Linked DNA regions of Homo sapiens: regions 1 and 2 are each linked to region 3. The links are contacts of gene promoters, found by promoter capture Hi-C in human tissues and cell types (Jung and others, 2019). All regions are on one chromosome and are shown on one strand. The core of a region is centred on a gene start or on the middle of the fragment in contact, and the rest is flanking DNA. Distances in the headings are between cores, read along the strand shown.

The links. The method cuts DNA at HindIII sites, captures the fragments that hold promoters and counts their contacts. A contact is called where the count stands out against the background at its distance.
Region 1: a contact is called between a fragment that was not itself captured here and the fragment with the promoter of PSMD11 in region 3, in 1 of the 25 tissues and cell types used here (dorsolateral prefrontal cortex).
Region 2: a contact is called between a fragment that was not itself captured here and the fragment with the promoter of PSMD11 in region 3, in 2 of the 25 tissues and cell types used here (dorsolateral prefrontal cortex and hippocampus).

What each region holds. Positions count from the first base shown.
Region 1 is chr17:32,772,063-32,776,433 of GRCh38, reverse strand. It overlaps MYO1D (myosin ID), which reads left to right. Exons shown (of 22, transcript NM_015194.3): 4 at 405-570; 5 at 3,592-3,645. Among named protein-coding and RNA genes, the nearest start is that of MYO1D-DT, 100 kb to the left of the region's middle. The HindIII fragment of the contact is 4,466 bases long and covers 1-3,783 here.
Region 2 is chr17:32,735,358-32,739,229 of GRCh38, reverse strand. MYO1D (myosin ID) reads left to right here. Exons shown (of 22, transcript NM_015194.3): 14 at 845-977. Among named protein-coding and RNA genes, the nearest start is that of MYO1D-DT, 140 kb to the left of the region's middle. The HindIII fragment of the contact is 8,518 bases long and covers 1-3,872 here.
Region 3 is chr17:32,442,820-32,447,140 of GRCh38, reverse strand. It overlaps PSMD11 (proteasome 26S subunit, non-ATPase 11), which reads right to left and starts at 2,631. Exons shown (of 14, transcript NM_002815.4): 1 at 2,527-2,631; 2 at 95-196. The coding sequence starts at 2,617. RefSeq lists enhancers at 2,542-2,621, 2,235-2,850 and a silencer at 2,742-2,911. The HindIII fragment of the contact is 9,367 bases long and covers 1-4,321 here.

The DNA of each region.
Region 1 (4,371 bases), core at 301-2,800, 330 kb before region 3:
GTGTGCTGATCCCTCCAGATTTTTAAGCATTTGCTGATACATGTGTATGCACACACACACACACGTGAACATACACATACACACACAAGGATCCTGCAATGCATGTTATTTGACAACTTGATTTTATATTCATTAATATATGCTGGACATTTCCATGTGAGTACATATTGATGTACCTCATTCTTTTTAGCACCTGTATAGTATTTCATTATATTGGGAAACAAAAATTTATTTTTATCCCTATTGGTGGACATTAATTTGTTTGTTTTTTTTTTGATATTGCAAACAGTGCTGGAGTTAGCATCTTTGTATAAATATTTGTATGTGGTTTAGCAAAATCCAGTTTTTAAAAAATTCTAGTCTCTATAAGTTTTTATAATGACTTTCATTTATCTGTGTTAAAGAGTGAAGAATATGTTGCTTAAGTCCAACTGTGTTTTGGAAGCTTTTGGAAATGCCAAAACCAACCGTAATGACAACTCAAGCAGGTTTGGAAAATACATGGATATCAACTTTGACTTCAAGGGTGACCCTATTGGTGGGCATATCAATAACTACTTACTAGAAAAGGTAAAATATGCTTAATTTCTGAGGGTAATGTTTTAAGTGCTGAATGTTTAAACAAATTATATTTATAGAATTTATTTTATTGACTCAAAATAGCTTTAAATCCTATTCTCCCTTCTTCATTAGCTTTTTATGATAAGGTATTCTCCTTTTGTCTTCTCTTCTTAGCACTTACACTGTCAAGTTGGAAAAAGTTGTGGACTTTGTAGATAGATTTAGCTATGCGTGTGAATGGGTGGGGGCACAGGTATGAGTGTGTGCCAGCTTCTGGGTAAGGTTTAACCGAAAGTCAATCTAAGACTAATCAGTTCTAGCCTTTTTATACATCACCATCTTCTATACATTTTAATTTTAATTAATTTGATATCTCATTTTCTTCTAGTTTCTATTTGTTCATTGCTTTATAGTAACATATATGTATTTTGTGATCTTACATCCTAATTATGAAGCGAACTGTATTTGGTCAGTAAAAACTTAAAATAGGCCCAATTTCTAGAGGATTCCAATTAGAATTTTCTTCTTGGGACCACCAGAGAGGTTGTGTCTGGTTTGGTTTTGTGTTTTTTGAGACAGAGTCTCACTCTGTCATCCAGGCTGGAGTGCAGTAGCATGAACATGGCTCACTGCAGCCTCAACCCCCCAGGCTCAAGCAATCCTCCCACCTCAGCCTCCTGAGTAGCTGGGACCACAGGCATGGCCCACCATACCCAGCAATTTTTTTTTTATTTTGTAGAGATGGGGTCTCCCTGTGTTGCCCAGGCTGGTCTCAAACTCTTAGGCTCAAGCAGCCCTCCTGCTTCAGTCTCCCAAAGTGCTGGGATTACAGGCATGAGCTGCTGCACCCAGCTGGTTGTGTCTTAACTAATCTTGATTATCAGTGGACATGACTGCAAGAGAATACATAGAGTTCATTTTTACAGTTAAGCTTGTGCTTTATAAAATCAAGTCTCCACCTTGAATTCATACAGATCTAAGCCGACAGGTTTTCTCAGTTAAGGGTTTCCTATCCCAGTTAGGCCATAGCATCCTTTATGGCCATATAATGAAGTATAATCTTTATTTTTGTTTGTTATATTGAAGTCGGACTGTTAAGGAAATAAATGTATTATCAGAGTCAGTTGAAAAAGGACAGGAAATGCCAGGTATTATTATCAGTCCTTTTTCCAGAATGTTTCATCAGTTCACTTTATGTGTAATACATATTCAATCAAAAGGATCCTTTTGAATGAACTCATATTTTGAACCCTCTCCTAACAGCAGTATTTTTGGAACCATCTAAGGCAGAGGTCTCTATGGATTGATCTTGCTCAACTGACTTTTATTACAGGATATAAGGCATTGCTCTTTGAAATGCCAGCAGACCCTGGGGAAAGGAATGTTGAGAATATTCCTCCCTAAGCATTCCTTCCTATTCTCCCCACTTCTAATTCTTACCCCACCCCCAACCACCAAATTCCATCTTTAGGCTCCAGGTTAAAAAAATCAAAATAGCTTCATTCTTCAGAAAGTTTTAGGGACCTCTGTTTTAAGCAATAAAAAGAATTATCAAAGAATTGCAGGGGAAACCCCATAGAGAAGACTCATTCTTAGATGAGTATACAATCCATGGGGGTCTTTAGGATATTTAACTGATTTGGGAGAGGTCGGATAAAGAAAAAGGAGCATTAACCTTGACTATGCCTTTAGCTCCAGCCGCCTCTTTAAGAGGAAATTGTTGGGCAGGTGGGGGAAGGCTAGTCATGGAACGAAACTGTAAGCCAGATCGGGTGTGAGGAGGGGAGGTGATAAAAGGATTATAGGGTGGGAGAGCACAGGCTGAGGAAGAATTGGGACCTGGCTCAGCCTGGCAAGGCACAGCCTGGGGAGGAGGGGAGAGGTCCTGTAGAAAAGGAGGATTCAGAGGACTCAGAGCTTGGGGTGGAGACTAAAGGAACAGACAGGAGAGAAAGAAGAAAGATATGGGACAAGTCGCATTGGGAGCAGAGACTAGGGAGGGACCGATGTGTAAAAGAATGCCTGGACGTCAGGCATCTCAGATCATTTGCCCATTGTACGACAATAATTGTCTAGACCTTGTAGGATGGAGAAATTTAAAGTGCTGTTTTCTGGCTGTTTGGAACCATTGTTGAGTTTGTATTGGGGTCAAGTGGTATTGCAGAAGAAAATAAGGTGTTTAGGTTTTAGGTCAGGTGTGAGTTGAAGAGGTTTTAAGTTCTTGAGAACACAGGCTAAGGGAGAAGAAGGAGGAATGGAGGGTGGAAGGTTGACCATAGTGGAGGAGGCAAGCCCAGAGAAAAGAGAGGGTAGAGACATGGGCCGGGGTCGGGGGGTGGGGGTAGGGAGTGGGGTGGGGTTGGTACTTGCCACCCAGGAAAGTGGTGCTTGCCACCAAGGTGAAGGATCAAGGCAAGTGTCCCCACAGTGATCAGACACCAATGGAGTGTGGGTGAATAATCAGGCAGGCGTCCCTGCAGTGATTAAACACCAAGGGAAGACTGTCTTCCCGAATCCGTGACCGGTGCTGAAGTTTTGTGTTCACAGATAAAACACGTCTCCTCTGTCTCTACCAGAAAAGGAAAGGAACTGAAATTAAGGGAAGGGGGAGATTGAAGGGTGGCGCCGAAATTGAAAGGAGAAAGAGGTTGAGGGATAGTAAGAGAGGTTGGAGAAGAGAGTAAAAAGAGGCCGCTTACCTGATTTAAAATTGGTGAGATGTTCCTTGGGCTGGTTGGTCTGAGGACTTGAGGTCGTAAGTCAGTCTTTCTCACAGAGCAAAGAGCAGGAGGACAGGGGATTGATCTCCCAAGGGAGCTCCCCCGATCCAAGTCACGGCACCAAATGTCATTAGTTAAGGCAAGAATCTGCCATTTTCACTTCTTATGTGATTCTTCAGTTGCTTCAGGCCATCTGGATGTATACGTGCAGGCTTGGGCTCAGAGGCCTGACAGTTCCCTAAGAAAGTGGCTCCTGTTTTATTTTAGGGGCACATTTTCGGGTTAACCATTTTAATGTGTTTTTTCTTAGTCTCGAGTGATTGTGCAACAGCCAGGAGAAAGAAGCTTTCATTCTTTCTATCAGGTTAGTAATCCATTATACAGATAATTGATCATTTGCCCAGTTGTGCAGGAAATGAGTATTTGTGTCTTGGGCTTTCCCCTGTCCTATGCATCACTCATCTCCATTGGCCCCGTAACATGTCACGCATGCACGCACGCACGCACGCACCACATGCCCTGCCCTACCTGCTTAAGAGATTGGATGAACATGACTGTTCCACCCAGCTGGCAGGAGCTTAGCCAACCAGATGACTGCCTTGGGTGAGCATCCCCCATATTTTCTTGCAGTACAGATAACACTTTAATGACTGTGAAAGCTTTTGAAATGGTACATTCTAAATGTTAAATTAATTTTTGTTTTATTTTGAATTGAAGCTGTTGTTTCCATATTTGGGAGTTCTAGAGATCAGAATACAAATTCAGTTTGTTTCACTCATACACACTAAAAGCAATATGATTACTTTTAAAAAAACAATCTGGATTTATAACTTCTAGGGAGGATTGCCTTTTTAATCCATCAAGTTTAGAAAAAAATTTGAGTATTTATTTTCAAGAGTGCTTTTAGATTTTAAAGCAAAATCTTTTAAATAGCCTTCCTGTTGGCAAGTCTTTACACTTAGAAAACAAGTATGATATATTATTGTAAGTTTTTAAAGCCCAAATTAATGTAAATCAAGGTTAACAGAAAGTAACTGAACGGTGACAATACAATTGGATGCAATTCAGTCGAATTCAGTTTCTTCTAGGT
Region 2 (3,872 bases), core at 272-2,771, 290 kb before region 3:
CCAATTTTTTAAGAAAAGTTTTTTTCTGATAAAAGTTTCTAGGAAGCAAGCAACATTTTGAGTTCCAACTGCTTTAACATCAAAAGCACCCAAAATGAAACCAGAAAAAAAATGACAGTTGAGATCACTACACGTTTTTAAAAATATCTCCACAGAGCAAAATTATGAATATACAATTTTAACCTGAAAATTGGCCTGAAATGCATTTTTAGATTTGGATTGCAACAGTCCTAATGTCACATCAATAAAATATTGTAACTGCCAATGCTACCTACAGATTTGTTCACAATTTGAACTGCAGTAAAGGGATTTACGAGGGACAATATAAAAATGGTTATTTTATATTCCTACCTGTGTTTTTTTTTAAAGAGCAGGCTTTCTGTAGTGTTACCTGTTCTATTAATATATAAATTATTTGCTTTAATTCAAAGATATTGCCACTTTTATGTTTTCTGCTGTGACATTGAGGATCATTTTTCTACTAGTGGTTTGTCCTCATTTTCTAACCATCACAAAAATGAATTTGTTTTATATATGTATTGTAAGAGCCATATTGACCATTTGAGGGTCCTAGGTAGGTATAATAAGGATGTCACTTTAAAGAAGTTTAAATAATTTTTAAAATATGCTATAGTTTGGAAAAACATCTCAATTTGCATTGCAGTATCAGTCATTATTCTTGTAGCATAATTTTCTGGATGGAATCATCATTCCAATTAGGCCTTGTGAGTTGAATCTGTAGTCCAATTATGATTCTCAGGATACATTTCAGCAGAATTGCTTATCAGTTTTTATCCAGCTTATTTGAATGTGACATTTGAATTGTTTTTTCTGTGCTTCTCAGTTCAAATCCTGTGCTCAAGAATATGTGGCCTGAAGGCAAACTGAGCATTACAGAGGTGACCAAGCGACCTCTGACTGCTGCTACCTTGTTTAAGAATTCTATGATTGCTCTAGTAGACAACCTTGCATCAAAGGTAATTATTTTCTTTTCTAAATATCCATTTTAACTCATAGATTTCCTCTTGATGTATTATAAAGAATGTATGTATGATTTGCTTTTTAGGTAATCATGTAGATTGAAGAATATGTATAAAGTGAATGTTATAATAGAATTTTTATTCCTGCATTTTTAAAAATCTCACCTCAGTGGAACGATTGTTGGTGTCCTAGATTAGTATCTGTCTTGAATTTGAGCTTTTTATTCTACTGTCATGGTCAAGGGAAAAATCTTGGATTTGAAAAATATATAAGGCACAGCATGCCCAGCAAAAGGAACTTTAGCGCTGTGCTGAAAACAGGACCTGGCCAAAATAAATAAGTAAAGTCTTGAATTAAGTTGTAAAATGTACCATTTATATATTGTGTTTGAGTACAAAGTGGCCAGAGAGTTTTAAGAGGAAATTTAGGATGCAAGTATTGTCCTTAGGCTGTTTTAAATAATTGAAATATAAAGACGTATTGGCCTGGGTGTTGTGGCTTATGCCTGTAATCCCAGCACTTTGGGAGGCCAAGGCGGGAGGATCACTTGAGACCAGCCTGGACAATATAGTGAGACCTCCTTTCTGCAAAAAGTTAAAAAATTAGCCAGGCATGGTGGCATGCACCCACAGTCCCAGCTACTCAGGAGGCTGAGGCGGGAGGATCACTGGAGACCAGCCTGGGCAATATAATAAGACCTCCTCTACAAAAAGTTACAAAATTAGCCAGGCATGGTGGCACATGCCTGTGGTCCCAGGTACTCTGGAGGCTAAGGTGGGAGGATCGCTTGAGCCTGGGAGGCAGAGGTTGCAGTGAGCCAAGATCACACCACTACACTCCAGTCTGGGTGATAGAGCAGGACCTTGTCTCAAAAAAAAAAAAAAAAGTTGTATTATTGACAATTATTTGTGTTTTTTATTGTTTCTTTAAGGACTAATACTATTTGATAACTTTTGTCTGTTTTTTCCCTTAAAGAACATATTTCTACCCCTAACTGCTGCTGTTGGCAAGTTTGATAAATTAGGCAGCATTCTGAGCCATGTTATTTTTAGTTTCTTCATTTTTATCTTTCTCTTCTGGTGCTTCTCCTATGTAGTTTCTTCTTCGTTATCTTTTTTTAAAAAATCAACTTCCTCTCTAAGAATTTGAATCCATACTGTTTCTGGTTACTTCACTATAGATAAATTAGGCAAATGCCACAGGAACACATCTGTGCGGTCGCTTTCTATCTCCTTTTGTCAGGATTCTTTGGCCTCAAGTGACCGCATATAAGCACAATTTGTTGGCTTATATAATCAAACCTCCAGAAAGGCAGGGGTAAGGACACTGGCACTGGAGGCTGGAATGCCGTTAGGACTCTTCACTCTTGTATCTCAGCTTTTCTTTGCATGTCAACTGCAGCCTGCTTCATCCAGCAAGAAGAAAAGTGAACCTGGAAGGAAGACACAGGACACAAGAAACAGTTGAACACTGAATTTCATGAAAGACTTTTAAATATTCAGTTAACTACAGTTAGTCAATTAACTAGAAAAAGAATTGTTTTGTTTTCTAAACTTGGTAGTTAATGTGCCATGTAAAGAAATAAAAATTCCAGAACCTTCTATAATTTCTGTATCAGGAATTGCATTCACCTTCTAATGAAACAGATCCCTGAATTAGTAGCTTAAATAAGAGAGACATTTATTACTCTCTCCTATAAATGAAGTATAGAAGAAGGCATCCCAGGACTGGCATGGCAGCTCCAAAGTTATTAGAGACCCAAGTTCTTTCTGTCCTTCCGCTCTACCATCCTAGTGCTTGGCACCCAACCTCCTGGTCCATGATGGCAGCTGGAACTTCCTCCTTTTTAAAGAGACTTCCTGGAAGTTTGACACACTTTAGCTACACCCCATTTGCTATATAGAGTTGTCAGGGAAGCTGGGAAGGACATTTTCATTCTGGTCAGCAGTGCACTCAGCTAGCAATAAGAATTCTGTTTTAAAGTAAGAAAAAGATACTGGACATAAAGTAGGGAACTAGCCTAGCAATCTCTGCTACAGCTTCCCAATCCATGTGTGTATGGAGATCAGGGGAGAAGGGAGGGAGCAGAGATAAGCAGAAGAATATAGACAACTTATCAGTACAATAGAAGGCAAGAAGGTAAAGCCAGACTGAGAGGTTCTAGAGGACAGCAGAAAAAAAAAAAAAGAGTTGCATTTAGAACAAAATAATATGATAGAAATAAATCTAAATAATTGGTATTCATCATAATGTAAATAGACTAAGCAGACTAGATAGGTGGAAAATCCAGCTATATGCTCCTTAGAGGAGACACACATAAATAACACTATGCAGAAAGCTCAAAAACAAAGACGTAGAAAGATATCAAGCCACCTCTCACCAAAAACGGTTAAAAGCAACATTCATGTGAAAGAACATAGAATTTAAGAAAGCAAGTATTAATACAGATAAACTAGTGATATCAAAATTATCCAAGACAAGCCATGTTGAACTAACATGGTACCTAACAACATACCCATACTTCTTGTAAATTCTATAAAGAAAAAAAAAACCTGAAAAATTTTAAAGGAAAAATTGACAAGTCCACCATCATAGTGGGAGATTTTAAACCAGTGCTGTCAGAAAGATAAATGATAGATGAAGCAGACAAAAATGTTAGTGAGAATGCAGAAGCTTTGAAAACCAAATTTAAACTTTATCTAATAGATCAAAGGAACCCTGTACCCAGAGAATAGGAAATACATATGCCTTTAAAGTATACATCAAGGCCAGACATGGCGGCTTATACCTGTAATCCCAGCACTTTGGGAGGCCAAGGCAGGAGGATCACTTGAGGTCAAGAGTTCAAGACCAGCCTGTCCAGCATAGTGAAACCCTGTCTCTAATAAAAA
Region 3 (4,321 bases), core at 1,382-3,881:
ATTCAGTTTGTGGATCAGTCCCATGATTCTTCACTCCAACAAAAGACAGGAATTTCACTGAGCATTTCAGATACAATCCATGTGTAGCACTTACCTGCAGCTTGTCCAGTCTTTGCCAGGAGAGATCCCAGTTCCAGGATGCTCTGCTCTTTGACTTGCACTGCCTCTTCATCGTTTTCCTGAATGTCACGCTTCACTGGGAGAGGAAAATGCAAACCCTCTTAAAATTCTGACCAAAAAATGAAGACTGAGGGAAATTTCACCCTCATAAGATCCATTACAAACTCAAACATATTTACCAAAAGACAAATTCTAGAGTTAAAAAAAAAAAAAAAACTCTAAGCCAGGAAAAAAAAAAGATCATATATACGTAGAATATGCTCCATGTAAATCATAAAAAAAGGATTCTTCTCTTTGATTTTAAATGTGCCTTTTCATTCTACCCAGCAGAATTTTGCTTACCTACATACACTAAGTTTCTGTTGTGGTCACTTGGTTAAAGTGAAATTAAAACAAAACAAATCCTTCATACTTATGGTGCCAAGATCTGTTCCAGTCACTATTTTATGGGAAGATATTAAACATGCCTGTGCGTTTATGCCACAAACTAAAATCAATTGACCAAGTTACTGATGCCTGTAAGTCAAAAGCGTTTCAATAAACTTTAGGTCTGTGCAAAGCCTCAGCTGATGGGTGTGTTAGGGATAAGCAGGTCTATAAAGCCATTCAAGAAAAACAACTCTATCAAAGCCCCAGATCCTGCACAGCTACACTTAGGGGAGACTGCTGCTTTTTAATGCATTGAGGTCTGTTAAAATAACTTTGTGCTATCTGTCCTATTTTCAACAGTTAATAACTATTTTAACATTCAAACATGGAATAGCCTCTCCAAGTTTGTAGTGATCATCACTAGTTACTACTACTCTTACAAAGCATCATGACTTGACAAAAACCATGATGGAGTCCAGAAAAAGTAAGGCCGTCAACCACCATGACTCAAGCTTGCTCTAACAGTGAAGCTTTCAGGGAACTCTCCCCTAGAATAGTGGGCCAACAGGAAATACTCTAATTGTAATATTTGACGTAATTTCTACTTTATGAAAGAAAAAATATTAGACACTAGACACAGACTATTAAAATTCATGCTCCTCACATTAGTTCTAAATAATAGTGTGTACTCAGAATAAAATATCCATGTAACGGTGATTGAGATGACTCTGGTTCCGTAGAAGTAACTGACCTAAGATCAGAACTTTTAAAATGAAACACCTTTTACCAATATCATTCAAAGATACACCTTGACGCCCACTTCCTCTCCTTCTCTAGTATCCCCAATGATAAAGTATCAAGATCTTGTCATTGTCCTTTCTCCGTGCAGGTCTGGAATACCAAAATTCAACACACTAAGTCAAATGCCAACATCTTGCAAGTCCCACATACAGGTGCATTCTCATACTACTTGTTGAGCCAATTCAGATCTTCCCAAACTACACTACAAAGATGCCATTACATGTGCAGTGAAGAGCTAGTCCAAGCCCTAATTGAATCCTTTATGAGTGAACATTAACGTCTTCTTCTGTCGTAATAAATTTCTGTTCACACTTGAATCCCAACAGAAAGCTGCCGGAAGCGACTGGCTGGGATTCCCATTTCAGTTTTCCTGTTGTGTGTAGGTGTAAGACCATCGTTATTACAGCGTTAAGAAATTTTAATTTTTCCGGCAACATGCAGCCGACCCGTTCCAAAGAATTCCCTGAACTCCGCGGCTGACAACTAACTCCCTTAACTCACTTCCAACCCCTACAGGCAGTCTGGAAAGATTAGTCACCTCCTCTAGCCAGGCGGTCCCGCTCCAACACCTCACTCTTACACCCTACACAGAGCAGATGAGCGTCTCGGCCACCTCCACAAACCAAATGCCAATCTGAGGTGTGTGTCACCCCTGAATTTCCCACATTCTGAAAGAGACCCTCCTCTTAGTGGAGCTTTCTGCCGTGGGGCTGAGGAGTAGCAGCTCCCAGCGTCCCGTGGAAGGAAACTCCCAGAGAAGAGCAAGCGCTCGCGCTCCCACCCGGAGCAGGCTGTGCTGATTACAACGGCGGGAAATGCCTGTCCAGAGCTGGTTTCGCCAAGGCCTTTCAAGTAGAGACTCTAGGACCAGTCCGTGACAAGCACGCCGGCCGGCACTGCTCCGGGTCCCAGACCAGCTCGTGCGGGCCAGAGCCGGGGACATGGCTAGGGAGGGATCCCCGGGGGCCCGGCTCGGCCCACTCTCCCACCCTACGCTGAGCCCCCCGTGAGTCAGCAGCCGGCGAGGGGACCCGGGGATTGCCTCAAGCCCTCCCACAAGAGTGAGACCTGGGAGGCTCTGGGGAGCTCCGAGCGGCCTGCGCCCCCGGCCCGGCCCCCCTCACACAGTGAGTCAGCAGCATCAGAGCCGGCTAGCCGGGCCCCTCTCCGCTGCCGCCGACCGACATAAGCCGAGCTGGGCCGGCGGGGCCGGGGAGGCGGCGCGGCGACCTTTACCGATGGAGTGGAGGATGTCGATGGAGGCCTCCCGGTCGGTGCTGAGTAGAGACTGGGCTCTCTGGAACTCCACCACCGCCGCCGCCGCCATCTTACCGCTCTCACACCGTCCCCGGCCGCGGCCGCCGACGCCGGAAACACACACCCGGAAAGCCCGCCCTCGGGTCCCTCCGCCTGTAGCTCCCGTGGCTCCGTTCCCAGAGCACTCCGGGAGTTGTAGTCTCTCCGCCGGGCGCGGGCTGAGGGGTGGGGAGAGCGGGACCGCCTCGCAGGTGGGCTGCAAGCTCCCCAGCGCCTCCTAGCGGGCGGCCGGCGAGGAAAAGAGGCGGTGCCCCGCAGTGGGAGCTCTAGATCGGTCCCCGCCCACCCCAAAAGAGGCTTCTTGATTCCGGCCCCGCTCGCGCACCCCTGAGAGGGGTTCCTGAGTACTGGGCTAGGTATTGAGTCAAAGCTGCGTGGCTTTCTTTGCGGCTTCCACGATTTAACCATTCATTCGGGACGATAAGTGACCTTATAAAGTGCTCGCTATGTGGCAAAGAATAGCACCATTCGAATGCGTTCCAGTGTCTGACGCCTGTGCGCCGCACACACGCTTTCCAGGCTTGACTCCCGCAGAACGCTGGCCGGCAGGTGGGCAAACCCGCCAGGACCGGAGAAAACTGTCCTCACGCGCCCATTTAACCTTGGGACAGTGCTGGACGTGATGAAGTGAAACATCACCTTTGCTCCATTCACGCCACAAATACCTCTTGGGAATCCACAGAAGCCTCACCCAGCTCCCCAGCTCAAAGAAAAAAAAAAAAAAAGGAAGGAAGGAAGGGAGGGAGGGAGGGACGGAGGAAGGAAAAAATTGAATTATTCTTCCCAATATCTTCAGCCCCTTCAACTAAAGTCACAGATATCAGTGAAGACGTCGTGTGGACGGAAAAATGACATTCTATGAGACCACTTAGGGTTAAACTTAAGAAAGGTGCTAAAAGGATACAAAGACAATTCAGTATTAAGGAAGACCTTTCTCTAGGTGATGACGATCCAAAAATGGAATGTGCTGTCCCATAAAAGGAGGCAAAAAGGGGACTAACATTGCACACCCTCCTCTGTAAGTGGATTAGGCCATTTATATTCCTCTATCTCCTTTTATTCTCCCAACAATGTTCTGTAAAGCAGATATTTACTCCCCTTTAATATGTGAGGAAACAGGGGTTTGAGTTATTTGGTGAAGCTCAAATCGTGATTGGGAGAGATAAGAGCTGCCGGTTAGGGAATGCCTTCCTAATTCCTGGGTGTGTTCACGTGAAAAGTAGTTGACATCTCATCAGGTTGTTGTAAACAGGATTCATGACTTTGATGGAGAGTTGGATTAAATGGCTTCTAGCAAGGCGCGGTGGCTCATGCCTGTAATCCCAGCACTTTGGGAGGGCGAGGTGGGCATATCGCTTGAGCCCAGGAGTTTGAGACTAGCCTGGGCAACATAGACCCCCGACTCTACTAAAAATACAAAAATTATCCGGGCATGGTGGCGCACGCCTGTAGTCTCAGCTACTTGGGAGGCTGAGGTGGGAGGCTTTAGAAGAAATCATAGGAGAGGATAGAGTGCTGGCCTCACTACAAAGAGGGAGTACCATAAAACAGTGGACCCCAACATTTTTGGCACCAGGGACCAGTTTTGTGGAAGACAATTTTTCCACGGATGTGAGGAGGGGGGATGGTTTTGGGATGAAACCGTTCCACCTCAGATCATCAGGCATTAGATTCTCATAAGGAGCAGGCAACCTAAATCCCTGGCATGCTCAGT